7 separate regions of the Homo sapiens genome follow, and regions 1, 2, 3, 4, 5 and 6 are each linked to region 7. The links are contacts of gene promoters, found by promoter capture Hi-C in blood cells and fetal thymus (Javierre and others, 2016). All regions are on one chromosome and are shown on one strand. The core of a region is centred on a gene start or on the middle of the fragment in contact, and the rest is flanking DNA. Distances in the headings are between cores, read along the strand shown. Region 1 has its middle 42 kb from the start of LINC01911. Region 2 has its middle 200 kb from the start of LINC01911. Region 3 has its middle 250 kb from the start of LINC01911. Region 4 has its middle 220 kb from the start of LINC01911. Region 5 overlaps MBD5 (methyl-CpG binding domain protein 5). Region 6 overlaps LOC107985824 (a long non-coding RNA gene). Region 7 holds the start of ACVR2A (activin A receptor type 2A).

Region 1 (3,041 bases), core at 308-2,807, 960 kb after region 7:
GGACTTCCTGGGTCGGGTGGGGGCTTGGAGAACTTTTCTGTCTAGCTAGAGGACTGTAAATGCACCAATCAGCACTCTGGGTCTAGCTAAAGGATTGTAAATGCACCAATCAGCACTCTATAAAAACGCACTAATCAGTGCTCAGTGTCTAGCTAAAGGTTTGTAAATACACCAATCAGCACTCTGTAAAAACGCACCAGTCAGCACTGTGTGTCTAGCTAAAGGATTGTAAACACACCAATCAGTGCTCTGTAAAAGCGTACCACATCAGCATTCTGTGTCTAGCTAAAGGTTTGCAAACGCACCAATCAGGACTCTGTAAAAAATGGACCAATCAGCACTCTGTGTCTAGCTAAAGGTTTGTAAGTGCACCAATCAGCACTCTGTAAAAACGCACCAATCAGCACTCTGTGTCTAGCTAAAGGTTTGTAAATGCACCAGTCAGCACTCTGTAAAATGGACCAATCAGCACTCTGTAAAATGGACCAATCAGCAGGACGTGGGTGGGGCCAAATAAGGGAATAAAAGCTGGCCACGTGAGCCAGCAGCAGCAAACCGCTCTGGTCCCTTTCCAAGTTGTGGAAGCTTTTTTCTTTCGCCCTTAACAATAAATCTTGCTGCTGCTCACTGTTTGTGTCCTCACTACCTTTATGAGCTGTAACACTCACCACGGGGGTCTGTGGCTTCACTCCTGAAGTAAGCAAGAACACGAACCCACCAGAAGGAAGAAACTCCAGGCACATCTGAACACCTGGAAGGAACAAACTCAGGATACACCATCTTTAAGAGCTGTTAACACTCACTGTGAGGGTCTGCAGCTTCATTCTTGAAGTCAACGAGACCAGGAACCCACTGGAAGGAAGCAATTCTGGGCACAATTAGACTTACGCTTTAGGTTCTAATCCTAAAGATGATTAATATCTAGGAAGAAAGATAAGGAGAAAGTATTTAAACAGTAAAATTCAAGGCAGTAGATTTGAAAGGGAAAGAAAACAATTGGGTTGGGTTGTTCTAGAAAAATCTCCTTGGAGAAAGAAAACGTGAGACTTGGTAAAGACAAGGCTTGGTGCTTTTACAGTCATGTGTCTCATAATGATGTTTCAGTGAACAACAGACCACATATATGACAGTGGTCTGTCGGATTCTAATACTGTGTTTCTACTGTGCTTTTTCTGTGTTGAGATACACAAATACTTATTGTGTTAAAATTGCCTGCAGTATTCAGTACAGCAACATGTTGTACAGGTTTGTAGCTTAGAAACAATATGCTGCATCACATAGCCTAGGTGTGTAGTAGACTACACCATCTAGGTTTGTATAAGTGATGTTCATGTAGTGATGAAGTTGCTTAACAATATGCCTCAGAACATATCCCCATTGTTAAGTGATAGATTATTGTAGATGAGATGGCAGAGGCGTTCTTGACAGGAGCACTGAGGCAGAGTTGGAGAAACTGAGCAACAGAAGATAACCAATTTTAGCTAGAAGAATGGATTTATTAGAGCAATAGAGAAATCTCTTTGGAGCTAGTCCCCCCCCCCCCCCCCCCCGCCCAAAAGAATGTAGAAGGGCTGTGTAGTAAATGTAAGAAATTTAAAGGCCAGACGCGGTGACTCATGCCTGTAATCCAGCACTTTAGGAGGCCGAGGCAGGCAGATTATGAGGTCAGGAGATTGAGATCATCTTGTCTAACATGGTGAAACCCCATCTCTACTAAAAATACAAACCATTAGCCAGGCATGGTGGTACGCACCTGTAGTCCCAGCTACTCAGGAGGCTGAGACAGGTGAATTGCTTGAACCCGGGAGGCACAGGTTGCAGTGAGCCAAGGTCGTGCCACTGCACTCCAGCCTGGACAACAGAGTGACACATTGTCTCTAAATTAATTAATTAATTAAAGAAGTCTTTGAAATAATCACCTTTATATATAGAAACTAATACAATGTAGTTCAATAAATATTTATTGAATAAATGGAGAGATTATCACTGGATATTTATTATCAGTCTTATCGTAAAGGTACATATGGAAACAAAAATAGGCTAATCTATAGCAGATACATTTAGAGTAGAATTAGAGTCAAGATGAGGTGCTAAAAGAAAATGCAACTGCTCCTTCTGTGGCTACACATGCAAGAGATGGAAATAAGGTAGCAGTCCAATTATCTTCTTGTAGAATGAAAAACCCTAAGTTTTCTTGAACTTTCTCTTTTACCTAGTGCCTCCAAATTCCTGTTGCTTAGCACATGATCTTCCCTTCTGAAGAAAACCTTCTTTCTTCTCTCTGGAGGACAGATATCGATGTTGCAGGTCACCTTCTGAAAAGCCATCTCTTGATCCCTCTCAGGTAATGTTAATTACCTCCTTTTTTGCACAAACAAAGTAGGCACTGCTCTTGTTATATTGTACTTTCCAAAGTACGACTCATTCTTTCAAACGTTTATGTCTCATGCTTGAGTCTTTCTAAAAATTAATATCTCTATTCTTGGCACAATATATACTTGCCAAATATTTATTGAATTAAAAGCTTTCCAGTAACATAATGCCAATAACATAGAGGAAACTTACAAAACAAGCTATCCTTAGAAAATGAAAAATAAAAAAATGGCCAAAGGATTACTGGCCCTTTGATAATGGTTCCTTAGTATCTGCACAGAATAAAGAGGGAAGTGACAATTACAGCTTTACTTGGGAATTCTAGATTCAGCCATTTACTAAAATACTTTCATTTTATACATCTGTATTTCCTAATACATAATATATAATGTAGATATAGATCTATATTTCATATATCTATATGTATACACATGCATATATGTTCATATGTATACATTATGTGTATATATGCATGCATGCATGTGTATTATATATATAATATCAGTGATCTCTCTTTTTCTATACATATGCATTTTTAGTTGATGGGGTATCTGTAAAAATGCTGTGCTTCTGCCAGCCTAGCTTTCCAAACAGGTCTCATAGAAACAAATGAAATAATCAAAACAACTCCTGTCCCTCCTTCAGCCACACTATTAGTTACCTGTTGA
Region 2 (3,014 bases), core at 423-2,922, 810 kb after region 7:
GGAGTAGCTGGGAATACAGGTGCATGCCACCAAGCCCGGCTAATTTTTGTACTTTTAGTAGACACCGGGTACCATGTTGACCAGGCTGGTCTTGAACTCCTGACCTCAGGTAATCCGCCTGCCTTGGCCTCCCAAAGTGCTGGGATTCAAGCATGAGCCACCACGCCCAGTCATTTTTTAAATCGTGTACGGCCTCACTGTCTTTTTGAAGGTGGACATTGTTTCAGTGATGACTAAACCTTCCGTGGGTCCTTTAGACATCAACATAGAGAGATCACTGGAGTCTTAAGAAAGCAGAGTCTGAAATGAACACTATAAAAAACAGGCTTACAATTAAGTTTTAATTACACAAGGAAAGGCTAGGTTCTTTCTTCAGTAGATAGAAGCTTGGATTTTTGGAATTAGTGTCAAGGCCAGGGTAGGAATGGTATTTGTTGGAACACAAGGAGAAGGAAAGAGTAAATAGTCTTCTTTTCAAGTCAGTTTGTGGTCTCTTTGCTTATAGAGAAGCAAATGGAAGAGACAGCTGAGAGATGATCTCAATTAGTTTGGAAATCTATGAACAAACAAGTTGAATTATTTTCATCTCATAGACATCTTTAGCAGTGTCAGAGTAGTATTAAACAAAAGGGGAAAATGTTGCCTTTTTTGAATTGTTAAAGTTACCTAGAATTCCCTTTAGAATAAAATTTTTCCATGTATGAGAGAGGGTACATCTAGTGATTAAGAGCTTGGCTTAGAAGCTAGATTATGTAGATTCAAATTTTGCCTTTGCCTAATGACCTTGGGCAAGCTTCTTTATCTATAGTTCAATTTCCTAATATTATAATGGGGTTAAAAATACCATCCACCTCATAAGGTTGTTATGTGAATTAAAAAAGCAAATATTTGTAAAACAACTAGAATGCTGCCTGCCATATACCAAGCACCTTAAAAATGTTTTCTTAGTGAATGAAATGTTCAACCCTCTCTAATAAGATGGAAATTTTAATCTTAGCAGGAAAAGGAGGAGTGGCAGTGAAAGTAGCTTATACAGCATTATGCCAATGTAAGATGACATTGCTTATGATTTACATTGCATGAAAAGAGTTTAGATATACGTTTTGTGGGTGGTCTGTAAATTTTATTGAATGATTAAGCACTCTGCTTAGTATTTGGTCCGCATTGCTATTTTTCATATAGATTCTATTTTACTAAACCTTTTTATTAGATTTGAACAAATTATGGTCACAGTGGCTCCCAGGATCTTTTACCATAGAGTCTTGCTATAGGAAGCACTTAGATACAGGCATTAAATTGTCATTTATTGATAAGAAGCTAATCTTGGTGAATTAATTTTTTATTTATACATTAACCTTTAATAGTCATTTAACTTCAGAAATAATCATAGGCCTATGGTCTTTCAATCTTCCAGTTAAGGTATTCTAAAATCAATCTTTTCATTTCCAGAAATAAATCCAGTGTGATCACGTCATTTCCCTGTTTAGAGCTATTTAGGATCTCTCCATCCACACAAAATAAAATAAAGTGTATTAGTTGGCACACAAGGCCTTTAATGATGAGGTCCTATCCTTTTTGGCCTAATCTTTTAGCATTTTTCCCCTGTCTCTTCACTTTAGTTCTAGAAATACCAAACTTACCAGGAGTTTATACTTTCATCTTTGCATCTGACAAAAGCTGTTCTCAGTACCTGTAATGTTTTTTCCAACTCCTCACTCTCTTCTTTCTACCTCTCCTCTTAGCCCATGTGTCACATCTTTACACTTTAGCTCTCTTTAACAAAACTCCTAGGGATACTTAAGCTCCTCATCCGTGTTACCGTTTTAATAAAAATAAGCTAACCTTCTACAGTGCCTGCTATGTACGAGGCTGTATTCCCATTGGTTTACATATATTAATTCATTTAATCTTCATAATAATCTTGTGAGGTTGATATTTACCCATTTCACAGACAAGGAAACTGAATCGCCATATGGTTAAGTAAATTGCTCAATGTCTTCCTGCTGGTTGGTTACAGAACCCAAATTTGAGGTGTACTGCACTACACTAAAATGGATACATTTTTATATTTTTCTACTTATCACATATTTGTGTGTGTGTATATATATATATACACACATACACTCTTTGTTCTAATAAATGCCTTCACAACCTACCAACATTCTCAATATTAGAGATACTCAGTGTTGGTAAGATGATTGTTCATTCATTAAAAATATTTAAAAATTAGTAAGTGCATTAAATCCAAAGAAACTCATGTGCTTTCTCAAATCTCCATTTTTCTTTTTCATCTTCTATGATTTTAGATTAATAAAAAACCTAGCAATTATCTTGCTCACTGTTTTCTTTTCAATATATGTGAAACTTTGCAGTTGAACTAGAGACTGGGCCTCCTGTATCCTCTTTTAACTTGACATTATCAACCACTCCCTTCTTTAGACATCTTTTTATTCTGACCACAATAGTCTCAACCACTACTGAGCTTGCATGTGATTATAAACACGTATTTCCTCTACCTTGAAGACATAACTAGCTCTGCTTTTTAAGCTTCTAGCCAAAGGGGGAAGAATTGAGATCAGAATGAAACCTAGGGCCGGGCATGGTAGCTCATGCCTGTAATCCCAGCCCTTTGGGAGGCCGAGGCAGGTGGATTGCCTCAGCTCAGGAGTTCCAGACCAGCCTGGGCAACATGGTGAAACCTCGCCTCTACTAAGATAAAAAAAGTTGGCCAGGTGTGGCGGTGTGTGCCTGTAGTCCCAGCTACTCGGGCGGCTGAGGCAGGAGAATTGCTTGAACCCGGGAGGTGGAGGTTGCAGTGAGCCGAGATTGCACCACTGCACTCCAGCCTGGGCAATGGAGTGAGACTCTGTCTCAATTAAAAAAAAAAAAAGAGAGAGAGAGAGAAAAAATGAAACCTAGAATTTTGCTACTCTCAAAAAAGTCTTTCAGTAACATAGTACTATGATGTTTTAATTTTGAAGTAACATTTTCCAGTAGAGAAAGTCATGTATAAG
Region 3 (2,937 bases), core at 30-2,529, 750 kb after region 7:
GTATACTCTATTCTTAGTCCCTGTAAAAGGTTTTCTTCTTTAGGGAGGACATGTTTGCTAGCAACAAAAGATGCTCTCTCAAAACCATCTAGATCTCAAATATTTATATAGTTAAGAAAATATCTGGAATGAAATATTTCCAGCCATTGTCTTGATGTACTGCATTAAAAATATCATGCTAAGTCTAATTAGTTACACATGTAGAAATAAATGTGGGACTCAGTAATTTAAGATTTTTGTGCACTTTTTATAATGAGAATAGGGAATAGAATTTCTCAATAGGGAACAGGAGTAGGGGTCTGTAAGCCTGCAATTATATAGAATAGCCCTGGAGTTTATGAGCAGATGCAGTTATATGGTTAGTCCCAAGACTCACTGAAAGTCAAGACAGACTTAGGTATTACTACCTTTAGTTAGAGGAGGATGTATATATACATATCTTATAGAAACAATGTTTTTATTTCCCCTCCATGAAGATTTTGTTGCTATTAGCTTCAAAAACAAATGAACAAGACACAGACATGTAGTGGTAAGTAAGATGCAAAAATCTTACTTGGTCGAACTTCATGAGGTTTTGAAATTTATTTATGTTAGGAAAAGAGAAAATTAGGCTAGCATTGTGTACCAAACATGACCCACTGGCAAATGTATGGCATTTTTTTCTTTAGTCATGATGAATTATTTGTTTAAATTAAATATTTTTTTTACCTCATTTGATGTAGTAAAGGAAAATGTGTTTGAATTGCTTCAAGAATGTCAGGAGATTGGTATGGCAGATTGACTGCAAAAAATGATTACAATTATTCCCCGCACTCCCATATATTCACCTCTTGCAAAGTGACTTTGCATTTCCTCTCATCAGAACATGATTTCTTTCTTCACCCTTAAACTGAGATGGCCTCATGGTTTGCTTTGGCCAACAGGATATGGCAGAAATGATGATGTGCTGATTCTGACCTTAAACCTCAAGAATCTTTGTGTGCCTCTGCTGTTCTTGGACATTTATATCCACCATGAGAATAAGCCAGGCCTGTCTGCTGGAGGGCAAGAGACCAAATGGAACAGAGTTAGTCAGCCCAACTGAGGCCTTCCTTAACTGGCCAACTCCTAGCCAACCTGTACCTGATCACAGACACATGCGTAAGCTCAGTCCACATCAGCCAATTTAGAACCACCCAGCCAGCCCACAGACTCCTGAACAAAACTGAATGGTGTGGGTGTCCCTGAGGTTTGTGTTTGCTTATTACATAACATTGTTGTGGCAAAGATAAATGATAAAGTAAATATTTTCATGTGTTGACACTTTCAATCATGATACAGAAGCCCCTCTTGTTATGAAACTTTCACTTAAAAATGTACATAGATAAATGAAATGCTACATTCCAAAGAAAAAATGTGTCAACTTTGCTTTCCACCAACATAGTGTACTATGCCCTGCGTATAGTAGCTTATTGAACCTACCAACACATAAACTTATAGGTAGCCTTTCAGAAGACAATCTGTTTGTGTGGTCCCTCTTAAGTTAGCCAAGATTTCCTCTTTTCTTTTTTTTGAGACGGAGTCTTGCCCTGTCTCCAGGCTCGAGAGCAGTGGCGTCATCTTGGCTCACTGCAACCTCCACCTCCTGTGTTCAAGTGATTCTCCTGCCTCAGCCTCCCAAGTGAGTAGCTGGGACTACAGGCACCCGCCACCATGCCCAGCTAATTTTTGTATTTTTAGTACAGACGGGGTTTCACCATGTTGGCCAGGATGGTCTCGATCTCTTGACCTTGTGATCCACCTGCCTTGGCCTCCCAAAGTGCTGGGATTACAGGCCTGAGCCACCACACCCGGCCATAGATTTCCTTTCTATGTAATATAAACTGCAAAAAATGAAATATAAACCCAAATTATTTTATAAATTAGCTAATATTTCTTTCCTACTAAGACATGAACCTCTCTCCAGGTTTTTTGATACTCATTGTTCTTTCCTCTCTTCCTACTGCTGAAATCATGATAAAATGTTGCTCTAAGGAAGAATTTATCCTTTGGAAGGAGGTATTTTATACATCTGATAAACCATAAGGTTCCTTCTAGTGCAAAGCCAGACAAGCAAGTAAGCCATTTTTACAGGAGAATTTACTTTTTAGAGCAGAATGTGGGCTGATTTAACAGTCTAGAAGACAAAAAAATGAAACTAGCTGAACAGGTTAAACAATGGTTTAGCTGGATAAAGTAGAAGCCAAGGGAATCTGGAGGAGTATCTGAAACCCAGAAGACATTCAAAAACTATGAATTCATAATGAGGAAGTGGCTTCTCCAGTTTTCTTACTAATTTTTTATGAAGAACGTTAGAACTCATAATTCAGTGATTTTGTCTTTTATTTTAAAAAGATGCTAAAACAATGATTGATCCAATTACATTAATTGACAATAATTAGTAATAAAAAGTGTGATCTCTATTTCTGTGCATTTTGTGGGTTCAGTTGGAAAGATGGAAAACACTGGCATAGGGCAAAGTAAGGAACTTTACCAAATAATTCAGCAACACAAGCAAGTAAGTACTGGAAAAATCAAATCCATGGCATTCCAAAATAAAGGAGTTAACAGGCAGGTATGGGATTGTACACGAAGTGTAACTTAGCTAGAAAAGCTAAGCTCTAGTGTGTGTATTTGCAGGGGGAGGAAGAGGAGGCTTAAGAAAGTGAATGTCAGTCTTTTTCAGTAGGTAGAAGTACATCAAATCCCTCGAATTATACTTAGTAAGTGAAAGAAGCACTTTGCAATTTACACTCAGTCTCTTAGCCTCTGGAAGGAGTTTATGCAGCTTTCAAAGGTAAATAATTTAGACCCAAGGGAAAGCTTACACATTGAGAGGATCTGCTCCAATGTTTGAGATGCTTCTGGGAACATCACTTTCTTAGACAGTAGAATACTAACAAGCCAGTAGTGGGAAAG
Region 4 (3,064 bases), core at 491-2,990, 790 kb after region 7:
AGGGTGAGGTTAGGGTGAAAGAAGCAGGAAAGCTGGGGAGGCTGGATGCCAGGAAGATTTTTGGAGGACTCCAATGAGAGATTGTAGGTATGAAAGAGATATTGGAGGATAAATGTCAAAGGGGATTATAAATGGGGATACCCTAAAGTTATGTACACATGTGCCTTTTTCTAGGGAGAATATCTGTATCTTTCATAACCTTTTTAAAAGGCTCTAATGATCCAAAAAATATAAAAAGGTATTGACGTATATTGAGTCATATGAATAAATATTCTGGTCTCAAAGAACTATCAATAGGAGCTATAGCCTGTCCCTAGAAACATTGCAACGAATGGAGAAATGTTCAGCATATATATGTACATAAAAACACCCATTTGAATAATATAGGATTTGTACGTCTGAGCTGTATCATTCACTCTTTTGACCTTCCTTGTAGTAGGGAAGTGGGACAAATTAGAAAACCAGATTAGTGATTACCTACCATGTAATAAGCCTTAAAGAAAGTATGTATAAATAAGGCCACATTTACATGTATGTTGAAATAATGATGGTCCAAAATCCTCATCTGCTTTACAAATTTGATCTCCAGTTCTTTCTGGAAGTTTTCTCCTCCAATTTTTTCAAAACCTCCAGGGCTTGAGATTGGTGCCTACATAATAATTCTCTGCATTTTCTCTACAGCCAAAGTAGAAGCTGAACTGTAGTCAAAGACTGAGCTGCAACAACACTGACCTTTCTGAAAGCCACATGGAGGTGCCAGAACCTTAAGTGGCCAAAACTTGTTAACCCTGGTTGTAGCATCAAAATCCTCTCTTCTTCTGCTGGCAAGAGCCAATGCTGCCTTTTACTGACAGCTCTGTGGAGTGGTTCTTGCGTCTTGGGTTATTTCCTGCCATTGCCATTGCAATGCAAATTTTATAAGAGATATTCCAATACTTTGCTCATTCAGTTTTGACAAAATAAAAGGCTGTTTGTTACTTCTGTCTGTTTATTAAGTTGTGTCCCACAGTGAACCTGTCTAGAGTGCAGACAGCTATAGTTTTTTAGTGACACTGCTCTCCAGATCATGCGTGTGTGCACACACACACGCACACACACCTTTTTTTCCAAAGGCACATCTGATACTCCAGGGTGACAGAATTATGGGGTTCTCTTTAAGCCACATGGTAGGCTCAGAGCCTATACTCCTCTACCTTCCTCATCCTGGAGGGCTATTTTTAATTCATTGGTCCCTACTCCTTACCCCGTAATGTGTGCTCCTTCTTAGGAGTCCATTACTATTTTCCTGAAATCTCACTTCCATCCAACAACTATTCCACTGGACATGTATTTCTACACATGTATATCTCCATGGAGTCCTTGAGCCATGGCCTGACTCCTGGAGGAATGAAAGGAGAGTATTAAAAATAGCTTCACTTCCAGGTCTCCTGTGTAAATCAGTGGTTGAAAATCAATATTTAACAGAATTAGCTAAAGATCTAAGCTACGATACAAATGGATGTTAGGGAGGGGAGCAGTCTAACTTTACTGTCCAACAGTACTGAAGCCTCAGGCTCTTGATTAAGCAATTTTACAAAAGAAAACCTTCCAAATATGATACCATTTGTTCTTTTGCATTAACAAAAGTATTAGATGTAATTTCATTTTTGGCTTCTCAGTCTGTTTGACTAATTGTCTTTATACTGTTATCATTCATTTTTATATTTGGCAAATATACCCTTCTCATAATTTTATCTGGATTAATTAAAAATTAATTGAAAATACATTGTTAAATATAATTCTTATTGCCTAATAATTTCAACCAAGGTCTAAATTATTTTTTCTTTAAATAAATTATTTCTATTTTTAGGGAAAAACCTTCAAAACCTTTATTCCTTTTAATACAGAGGACAAAGGGAAAATATAAACAAATCTGTAAGAATTACAAGGTGGTCTAATATCTAATATTTTAATAAACTACTACCAGAAACCTCTATCTCAGAAAAGCTATCTTACTAACATGCAAAAAACATTATAATGAATGTCTATTATGCGTTGCTTAGAGGGAGGATGCATTTGAATACTTAAAATATTCAGTGGACTCAGAGTAACTGATGTTTTAGGGTTCCACTAAGTGAGTCTGAAATGTTTCAGAGCTCAGTGAAAGTAGCTTTACCTCTCAGGTTTCAGCTTTGTAAAGAATAAGGACTTGTGTAGGCTCCATACATCATTGTTTTGTAGAGGGTGAATTGTGTCCTGGTAGAATTTTCTGAGGCTAATGCATGTGAATCAGCTTCATCTGATCTTCCACGGTAGTTTCAGGGTCTGTGGAGGGTTCACATGATGGATGGACCACTCCATACCTTTAGGAAACCATCCTTACAGGGTTGACAAGAATTGCATGCCAGATACTGATCAGAAATATAGTTATAATTAAAGATTAATTAGGCTGCACTTTGGCCCACTTCCTTGTTGCTAAAAGTCAGGCAGCACTAGATACTGACCATTTGCATCTCCATTATTTCTATTGATAGGATTTCTGACATTAGGATTTTAAGGCTGTTTAAGAATTGATTTGCATTCCCATGGTTCCTATAGACAGGATCTGTGACAGTTTGTTTAAGAGTTGCATGAGATGTTTTTCAGATCCTGAATTCCAACAACCAGTTTGAAGACCCTCACAGAGGAACAGGATCAGCATGAAAATACAGCTTCTTCATTTTCCTGTCTTCAGGAAAGTGACTTCACCTTGCGCTCTGTGACCAATCAAGGGTCTCCACACTTTAGTCCACTCCAAAACCCTTAAAAACCCTACCCCTAAACTCCTCAGGGACATGGATTTGAGGTTTTCTCTTATCTCCTCTTTCAGTGACCCTACGATTAAACATTTTTCTCTGCTGCAACCTGGTGTCTCGGCTTTGTGACTTGCTGTGTGCATCAGGCAACGAACCTAATATGCTTACATTTATTCAACTAATATAAGGAAGGCGGCATGGGGAAAATGTTTGTTGGCTTGGTCATCTGCCTTTGTTATTATCTGCATCAGAATTAAGAGACATAGTTTTATGGGAGGCAGTGAGTTCTG
Region 5 (2,971 bases), core at 111-2,610, 660 kb before region 7:
TGAAAATGTGATTTACTTAATCACTTTATTGTTTTCCAGCTTCACAAAAAATCAGGTTTCCCAAGAAATGTATACGTACATATAGACAGAAGATTTGCTCCTCGCTTAAATGAAAACTATAACATATGTAAAAGCTGTGGAATTTTTCTTTAATAAAGCTATTTCTGCTTTTAAGTACAAAATTGCCCTAAGTAATGTATTAAATAAATATGTTACTACTAGGATATAATTAGAACATATGTTTAAAGATATTTATTTGTTGTACAGTTTGATTGAGGATACTGAGGATTAAAATGACTATATAAAATACCAAACATCTAATATGGTGGTAGAATGTTTCAACTGGCAAAAATAACAGATAATTTTCTTTCTTTCACCTGTATCTTTATAAGAAAAATAGCTATTTACTAAATGCCATGTGCCAAGTACTGTGCTGAGGCTCTCTCTATATTATCTATGTTATAACAATCCTAAAATAGGATTATGCCCATTTTAGAAATGAAGAATTTAGGCCCAGGGAGATTACGAACACACAGCTATGAAGTGGTAGAAACAGGACTTGAGTCCAGGTGAAAAACCAACCTCTTAATTATCTTGCTCCAAATGACACCTTCCTTTTTCAGCCTTTTCCTCTTTTCTTCTTCCCCTCAGTCTACAAAAGTAGTCAAATCTTTGTCATTTTAAAAATTCTTTCTTCGTTATTTTTCAGGAATTTTTCACATTATGGGTAGAAAGAAGAGTAAATAATCTACATCTCCTCTCCCTATTTCCTTATTCTTATTTAATAGCCATTTTGTGTGTATACCCATCACTCTACTGGAAACTGTTCTCACTGAAGTTTACCAGTGACCTTCAAATTGCCCAATCTGATGGGGATTTTTCAGTTCTTGTCTTACTGCACCTCTGTTGATCATTTTATCAGTCTTTGACTTCTGAGACTCTGTCTACTTTCCCTGATTCTCCTCCTCCTCACTGACCATTCTTCCCATCTTCTTCATTCTATTGCATGTTCAATCCTTAGCCTACTATTCTTCAAATTGGTCAAAGTATCTTTGTGTGACTGCAGTCATTTGTATACTGTCAAATACCACTTCTCCCCAGTTTCAGACACGTATGTCCAGCCTATCCTACAGGCACCCCAAACTGTACTGAACAGCTTCCCCCTGTAACCTCCACTTCAGTCAGTGTTTCTACAACCTACCAAGTCTCCCAAGCTGAAAACCTGAGAGCTGTCCTTGATTTTGTTCCCTTTCCTTTACATTCTGATCAATCACCCCATGTTCTGTCTATTTTACCTCCTAAGTATTTCTTGACCACATTCCTTCTTTTCCATCCTCATCCCCAACTCCACCAGCTCCTGGTTTGGGTCCTCGTTCTCCCTTGTATTCTGCCATGGCTCCTGAACAATCTCTTCATCTTCAATATTGTTGCCTTAAAATTGTCCTTGTACACGGCCATACCTAAGGTGAAAAATCTGACCACCTGCCCCCTTTAGGCACTTCCAAAACAATAAAACATCCTATTGGTCCTTACTAGGCCCTTCATGATCTGGTTCCCGCTTATACCTCTTATATCTTCCCATCCGATACTTTACAGTCCCCCAAATCCAACTGCTGCTCTCATCTAAACACTATCCCACCCCATCTTCGTCTTTGTTTCCTTTGTGTGGCTGATGCCTATGTAGTGTTTAAGGCTTGGCCCACATATCTTCTCCTCTAGGAACCCTTCCTTTACCTGCCTTTTCCCTGTGACCCAAAAATATAGTATATATATTGCTGTTGTTGCAATTTTGACATTTGAATTACTTGTTTCTGCATCTGTCTCTTTCACTAAACAGTGAGCTTCAGGGACTGTAGCACTGTTCCTGGCACAGATTTTTTTTGCTAAATTTGTCTTCTTAAATTGGGAATAAATGCATAAATTAAAAAATGATTTGGTTCAACATATAATTTATCAGTTGTGGGACTTTCAACTAATTATTTAAAGTGTTTGAGTCTGAGTGTCCGCATCTGCAAATGGCTCAGTAATTTTGACCCATCTCGTGACTGGGAGAATAAAATGATGAATTTGCAATTACATGTGCAAAATGTAAAGCATTCTACTGGGCATCGAAAAGGAAAGTCTGTCTGCTTAGACAATAGTATGGTAAATAAAGTTCTTTTTATAAATGTTAGTTTTGTATTTTCTACTTTTACTTCTCCAAACTGTACTTTAAGTTTATGGTTATCATGAGGAGAATTCCTTTAGATAGCTCTCACATTAATTTACTACAAATAGGAAATTGGCTTTGAAGAAACATTTTTAAAATTGTAGTTTGTTTTTCATTACCTTTCAGAAATTGCTTAATAGCAAATACATGGGGAAAATACAGCTCATTTCAAGGCAGTGTATTTGAATATTTGGAGGAGTTATTTTATTTCTGTTATTAACTTTATTTTGTACATAATCCAAGTAACTGGCATGTTTCACTGTAGGAAACATTTTCAGGGCTCCTTTACACCAAAGAAATGGGTACTGTTGAATAGTTTACAGCAACTGGCCCACTGCAAATTTGTGGTGTAGGTAATTTGCAATTTTCCTTCTTTTATCCAGACCTTGTATTAATTTTAGTGGCCTTATCTTGTTGCTAAGCTCTGCATAGCAAGTGTGCTTCAGTAAGAGTAGAAGGGACCTTGATCCCTGTTTTCCTTATCAGGTCTAGAGGGATGTTATCCGGCAATTAACTTGGCCTTTCACACAGCCAGTACCAATTTGCTACCTTTTAAAGGAGTCCGGGACATAGAGACATAGGAGTTTGCCCCTTGCAGCTGTCATCTTTTCAGATACCTTTTATTGAGGTGAAGAGTCTTCCTAAGATTTGTTGACTTCTAAAATTATGCCTCTGGCCAGAATTATGGGAAACACCATAAAGTGAAAGAGAATGCTTTTTAATAGATATTACTGATATCATTATATAAGCCTTCTATGCAAG
Region 6 (3,224 bases), core at 5-2,504, 910 kb after region 7:
TTGTTAGATACTTAGGTTGTTTCCATAGCTCGGCTTTTGTGAATAATGCTTCAGTGAACATGGGGGTGCAGATATCTTTTTGGAGATATTGATTTAATATCCTTTGGATATATACCTAGAGGTAAGATTACTGGATTTTATGGGAGGCTCTATTTTTAATTGCGGGAGGAACTTTCCTACTGTTTTTCATAATAACTGTACCAATTTACATTCCTACCAACAATGTACAAGGGTTTCCTTTTCTCCACACTCTTGCCAACACTTGTTATCTCTTGTTTATTTCGTACTAGCTATCTTAACAGGTATGAAGTGATATTTCATTGTGATTTTGATTTGCTTTTCTTTGATGACTAGTGATGTTGAGAATCTTTTCATTTGCCTCTTGGCCATTTACATGTATCCTTTGGAAAAAATGTCTATTCAGGTCCTTTGCTCATTTTAAAATCAGGTTTTTGTTTTTATTTTTGCTATTGACTTACATTAGTTTCTTATATATTGTAGATGTTAACCCCTTATCAAATATATGGTTTGCAAATATTTCCTCCCATTCCATGTGTTGCCTTTTCATTTTGTTGATTGTTCCTTTGCTAGGAAGAAGCTTTTTAGTTTGATGTAGTCTTACTTATTTTTTTCTTTAGTCACCTGTTCTTTTGGTGTTATATCAAAAAATAATTGCTAAGGCCAGTGTCTAAAAGCTTCTTCCCTATGTTTTCTTCTGGAAGTTTTATGATTTCAGAATTTACATGTAAATTTTTAATTCATTTTGAGTTAATTTTTGTGTGTGGTGTAAGACAAGGGTCCAATATTATACTTTGGTGTGTAGATATTCAGTTTTTCTAACACCATTGTGTATTCTTGGTATCCTTATCAAAGATTAGATGGTTGTATTATTTCTGGTCTCTCTAATTTGTTCCTTTGATCTATGTGAGTGTTTCTATGTCATTACATACTGCTTTGATTACTACAGTTTTGTAATATAGTTTGAAATTAAGAGTGTGCTGCCTCTAGCTTTGTTCTTCTTTCTCAAAGTTGCTTTTATTGTTTCATGTTTATAAACATAACGGATGACTCATAAGTATGTCCTCATGAAGACTACACACTTAGCCCGTTGGTTACTGGATAACGGAAAGTCATGCAGATATATATATATATATATATATATATATATATATATATATATATTCCTCCTTACGCCTCTTACTAGCTAGAAAATATAAATTTAGCCTAACCATATAAAAGTTAAAAAGTAAAAGTTAAAAAGTAAAGTTAAAAAGTAAAAAGTTAAAAAGTAAATAGAAAGTTAAAAGTTAAAAAGTAAGTAGAAAGTTAAAAAGTTAAAAGTAAAAAGTTAAAAAGTAAAAAGTAAAAGTTAAAAAGCTAAAAGTTAAAAAGTAGCTTAGCATCTTCTATATAATAGGATGTAAATAAAAGTTGAATTTAAAAAATCCACCTAATAACAAATACTATTTTAAATTATAAAAAGTAGAACCTCTACCTTTTTCAGTATGGTAATCTCCACTGCCATCAGCTTATTGTGAACAGGTACTTTGTAATGAACACATCAAAAAGATTGATTATGGGAAGTCATGTTTAAGATTTCTGAAATTGATAAATCTGTTTTTTAAACTATTTTTTAAACTCTGGCTCTTTCACTAGAGAAACTCCAACATTGTTGCCATTGTTATTTAAACTCTGTGTCTTATTGGAAACATTATTAATTTTTAAAAACAATGTGACTGTATTTTGAATAGAATTAAAAAATCACTAAAAGTAATTGGTGACTAATTTATGGACTACTTTAAATAAAGCTTTTGTAATATTTAATATTAATATACATGGTCTTCAATTGTTGAATTATAGTTTGATTTTTCACCCCTTCTGCCAGTCGTATATTTCACATTTTATTCAAATGGATACCTTTGGTAGTTCATTATTTTTTAAAAATATTTAATAGCTTTTTGTGGTTCTTGTATATTATTATTCTTTAAAAATCAAACCAAAACTCATATCCTTATCACCCAAAAAGTATATGTGAGGGAGCTTCAAGCGAAGACTGAAACTCAAATTGGTATTTTTCTAGATTCCTGGGGGAAAACAACAACAGTATATAAAGACCTATGGTTGCTAGGTTATGCAACTTTATGATTCACTTTTCTCTTTTGACTCTCAAACTTTTATAACTATATTTATATATTCTTATTCAGGCTTTAATTCACCTGGTGAATCTTTTTTTTTATTTTTTGGGACGGGGTTTTGCTCTGTCGCCCAACCTGGGGTGCAGTGGTACTGAAACGGAAAAGTTCCCTTATCCCCCTTGCAGGGCATGTGATGTGGGTGTGGCTTGTTTCTTCAGTGCTCTGCTGCTCAAACCTCTAGGGGAAGCACACAGATAACCAGGCTGTGGAGCCCTAACCCCGTGACAGTGTCTAGGGGTGAATGTTTACAGCTCCTGAAGCCCCAGTGGGCATGTGTTACAGGGTGCTCTTTTAGTTTTGTCGTGTATAGGTGGCTTGTCTTAACCAGTTCAATTAGACCCTCCACCTTATCAAAAGGACAGAGGGCTTTCTGTATTCCAGGTTCTTGCCTTGATGTACCAGAGGAATCAAATCACATTTGGGCTTGGAGAATGAGTGCAAGGTTTCATCGAGTGGAGGTAGCTCTCAGCAGATGGGGGAAGTCAGAAGGAGATGGAGTGGGAAGGTTTCCCTCTGGAGTTGAGCCTCCCAGCAGCCTGGGCTCTCCTCCGACTGCCTCAGCCAAACTCCACATTCTTCTGCTTCTGATGGTTGGTGGCCTGCCAGTGTGCTGGTGCCTGTCGGTTAGTTCCTCTCCATGTCCAGCCACCTGAGTGTTGTGCTCCTCTCCATGTCCAGCTGCCTGTGTGTCTGCCTGCTAGGGTCTTGGGTGTTTTTATGGGCAAAGGATAGGGGCGTAGCAGGCCAGAATGGTCTTGGGAAATGCAACATTTGGATAGGAAATGCCTGTCCTCACCTAGGTCCGTGGGGGTGGAGCCCTAGCCAGGGACCACACCCTCCTCTACCCAGCATTTCCCTTCCCCAGCTCTGTATCATTTAAAGGGACCATGCTCTTCCCTTCCAAGCACTTCTCTTCTGTATCAGTACCCTCACAGATGACTGCAGCCTCGACCTCCCAGGACAAAGTGATCCTCTAACCTCAGTCTCCCAAGTACCTGGGACCATAGGCACACGCTATGATGCCTGGCT
Region 7 (2,896 bases), core at 334-2,833:
TAAACAGACATGATTCTTTTGGTTAATCTCTGGCAATGATCGCCATTTCACAACACATTCAGCCCACCCGGAACTGATCAATACCACTACAGACATAAGACTAGACTTTATCCATTTATTAACCACAAGGAAATGTACCATTCAGCAAAATTCTATACATTACAAAAGATTATATTTAAAGGGGGGTGGGGAAGACGGACACAAACACACAAACACACACACACACACCCCACAGAGGTACACAAAGAAGACTACCACCCTTTAATTTTCCTGTGGCAAACGAGATAAAGACATGGCCATGAAACCTGTCAATTCGCCCCCGTTTCCAAGAGTCCCCCGTAATTCTATGCCACAAGCTTGTAACTGAATATTAAATTTTACAATAAATAGATCCAATGAGACTTATTTAAAATGTTTCATCTATTGAACTAACTCTCCTGTTATGTACATCTGCACACCTTTCAGCTAGATGCTGTATTTATTTATAGAATTTCAAATACAAAAGACTAGATAGTTTTTCCAACCACTGGTTGCAACCATAGAACGTCCTCACAAAATCAAAATTTCCAATATAAAATGGCCCGTTTATTCCCCCAACCTTGAGCTAAAACCTATTTTATGAGTGTACTATATTTAACAAAAACAATTTCACATGGGTTGTTCTAAACCGAAAACAATGCTTCAATACAAAGCGTTTAAAATAAGTATTCCGTAGGTAAGCAAAATCTATGCCCCAAAAGAGCACACAAATGGTGGTTGAACGCCAGCACATTACCAATACCAAGCGGCATACCTCTTCTGCACTGGGTTATAGTTAATACTCCAACAACAACTACAACTATTTTTAACACTGCTGGACGCTGAAGTTGAAGAAAACGTGAGGGGAGACCCAGATTAAATTGCTGATAGGATGTATTGTTTCCCACAGCCAAAATTAAGCAGCAACTGGCTTGATCTATGTCGTGATATTCACCGGTGAAGCACTAATTAAACGATGACAAAAAGCAACCCTTGTTTTGGAGGAGCCCACACTAAATACTCCTTTCAGATCTCAACCTTTGCATAAATTGTCACTTGTGGTATTTGCGGCTTAATTGCAACCCAACCAGCGCTGTCATCCAGTGTTATGGCCACAAAACATGACTTTCTCACTTCCACAACAACACAGCACTCACTCTTATCAGCTCGCCGACCCAACTCAAAAAGAGAAAAATGCATGGAGGTTTCCAGATCACAATCAGACCTGGGGGCGGGGGGGGGGGGCGGTGGCAGCCGAGGGGCGCAGGGAGTGGGCAACCTCCCCAGGCTCCACTGGACTCTCCGACTCAACACCAGCCGCGGCCCCCAGCAGCGGCCGCCGCGGCCGCAGGAGCAGCCCCACCGCGCCGCGCTCCCTGCACCTACCTGAAGAACAGGAGATAAGAAAGACGGCAAACGCCAACTTTGCAGCAGCTCCCATTTTCCCGAGGCGCCGGGGAATCCGGAGGAAGTTCTCGCTAGATATCCAGTTCCCTGGGTCTTCCTCGGAGACAAACCTCCTGGTGTAAAATCAACCGTCATAAAACATATTCGGAAGCCCAGACCAAAAAAAAAAAAAAAAAAAAAAAAAAACGCTCACTGGGTTAAAAAAAAAAAAGAAAAAAAAGAGCACAACGATAAAAAATAAAATGCACCACGGGGGAAAAACCGCCACACACACGCACAACACACAAAACCAAACAACGAAAAGCCAACAACAACAAAAGCGGGTTTAAATCACTGTCAAAATCACTGTCAGCTCCGCTCGCCTCTCCCGTCTCTCGGAACAAAACGCCAGGCTGAGGCGACGAAGAGGCGGCGGCGGCAGCGGCGTCCGCTGCCGCCCGGACAGTCTGGGAACTGACTGGGTCCGATGTCCGGACCGACCTTCAACCCAGACACCTAAAGTCCGAGGACCACTGGCGGCCGAGCTCGCGGCGGTGGCGGCGAGGCGGCTGCGGCGCGGGGAAGGGGCGGCGGGCGGCAGCGGCGGCGGCGGTGCAGGCGGCGGCCAAGTTCTGGTCCAGGCTCTGGCTCCAGCTCCGGGCTCCGGGCTCGGCCGCGTTTTCGGTCTCCTGGCCTCCGCCGGGCTCCGCCCCCCAAACTTCCGGTTCCGGCCCGAAGCTGGAAGCCAGGCGCAGCGGAGGAACGCTCGGCGGCAGCGGCGGCGGCGGCGGCGGCGGCAGCGGCGGCCGGGCGCAGCGCGCGTGCCGGGCCGGGAGCGCGAGGAGATTGTCGGGGAAGCGAGGCGGGAGCGGGGGAGGGGTGAGAGAGCGAGGGCGGGGCGGAGTGGAGGGCGAGGAGGCGGGGCGGACGGAGGCTCGATACCGCGAGGCCTCGGCGTCCGGCCTGCTTGGGCTAGAGATACCGCGACAAAGGGGCGCGGGCGCCTCAAAGTCCCTAAGCTGTGGCTGGGCTGTGGCCGGGCGAGTAGATGCGGGCTAGGCCGGGCACGACCCGTTTCCAAATCGCGTCCGACGGGCCTGTCTGGAGCGCCCACCCAAAGGGTCAGGAGAAGCCCAAGAGGAAGAGGACCCCGAGGTGGGGCGAGTGGCCAGGGACTTCTCCAAGGGGCGTCTGCGGCGCCCAGTCTTTCCTCTGGGGGGACGCCTCGTCCGCTCTGATACCGAGGAGTCGGTGGAAGGCGGACGTGGGAGCTGTTTCGCCGCGCCCGCCGAGCTGCCCAGGCGAGCTCGCGACGCGCGAGCTGGTGTGTGCGCCCCCAGACTTAGCACTGCGTCCCACCGCTGCAGCTTCTGCACACGCGTGCTGTCTTGGTGACTAGAAAAGAAAAAGAAAAAACTCACGGAGGAAGGGCTGTCCACCCGCTCAGGATATTCACGCCATTTATCACGATGCGCAACTTGAATCCATTCCC

What was found. The method cuts DNA at HindIII sites, captures the fragments that hold promoters and counts their contacts. A CHiCAGO score of 5 or more calls a contact.
Region 1: a fragment that was not itself captured here is called in contact with the fragment with the promoter of ACVR2A in region 7 in 1 of 17 cell types (endothelial precursors); the score reaches 5.1 in endothelial precursors.
Region 2: a fragment that was not itself captured here is called in contact with the fragment with the promoter of ACVR2A in region 7 in 3 of 17 cell types (M1 macrophages, activated CD4 T cells and endothelial precursors); the score reaches 6.1 in M1 macrophages.
Region 3: a fragment that was not itself captured here is called in contact with the fragment with the promoter of ACVR2A in region 7 in 5 of 17 cell types (M0 macrophages, M1 macrophages, M2 macrophages and 2 more); the score reaches 9.2 in M0 macrophages.
Region 4: a contact is called between a fragment that was not itself captured here and the fragment with the promoter of ACVR2A in region 7, in 1 of 17 cell types (M2 macrophages). The highest score is 5.8, in M2 macrophages.
Region 5: a contact is called between a fragment that was not itself captured here and the fragment with the promoter of ACVR2A in region 7, in 1 of 17 cell types (total B cells). The highest score is 6.5, in total B cells.
Region 6: a contact is called between a fragment that was not itself captured here and the fragment with the promoter of ACVR2A in region 7, in 1 of 17 cell types (endothelial precursors). The highest score is 5.6, in endothelial precursors.

What each region holds. Positions count from the first base shown.
Region 1 is chr2:146,878,662-146,881,702 of GRCh38, reverse strand. No RefSeq gene overlaps it. Among named protein-coding and RNA genes, the nearest start is that of LINC01911, 42 kb to the right of the region's middle. The HindIII fragment of the contact is 1,939 bases long and covers 588-2,526 here.
Region 2 is chr2:147,036,714-147,039,727 of GRCh38, reverse strand. No RefSeq gene overlaps it. Among named protein-coding and RNA genes, the nearest start is that of LINC01911, 200 kb to the right of the region's middle. The HindIII fragment of the contact is 1,754 bases long and covers 796-2,549 here.
Region 3 is chr2:147,090,951-147,093,887 of GRCh38, reverse strand. No RefSeq gene overlaps it. Among named protein-coding and RNA genes, the nearest start is that of LINC01911, 250 kb to the right of the region's middle. The HindIII fragment of the contact is 3,129 bases long and covers 1-2,843 here.
Region 4 is chr2:147,058,369-147,061,432 of GRCh38, reverse strand. No RefSeq gene overlaps it. Among named protein-coding and RNA genes, the nearest start is that of LINC01911, 220 kb to the right of the region's middle. The HindIII fragment of the contact is 6,225 bases long and covers 1-3,064 here.
Region 5 is chr2:148,503,442-148,506,412 of GRCh38, reverse strand. The region is part of intron 12 of MBD5 (methyl-CpG binding domain protein 5); the gene reads right to left. Among named protein-coding and RNA genes, the nearest start is that of EPC2, 140 kb to the left of the region's middle. The HindIII fragment of the contact is 8,569 bases long and covers 1-2,971 here.
Region 6 is chr2:146,930,448-146,933,671 of GRCh38, reverse strand. The region is part of intron 2 of LOC107985824 (a long non-coding RNA gene); the gene reads left to right. Among named protein-coding and RNA genes, the nearest start is that of LINC01911, 94 kb to the right of the region's middle. The HindIII fragment of the contact is 1,113 bases long and covers 698-1,810 here.
Region 7 is chr2:147,843,716-147,846,611 of GRCh38, reverse strand. ACVR2A (activin A receptor type 2A) reads right to left here and starts at 1,583. Exons shown (of 11, transcript NM_001616.5): 1 at 1,405-1,583. The coding sequence starts at 1,459. RefSeq lists silencers at 1,142-1,221, 1,977-2,086, 2,167-2,356 and an enhancer at 2,483-2,896. The HindIII fragment of the contact is 3,923 bases long and covers 359-2,896 here.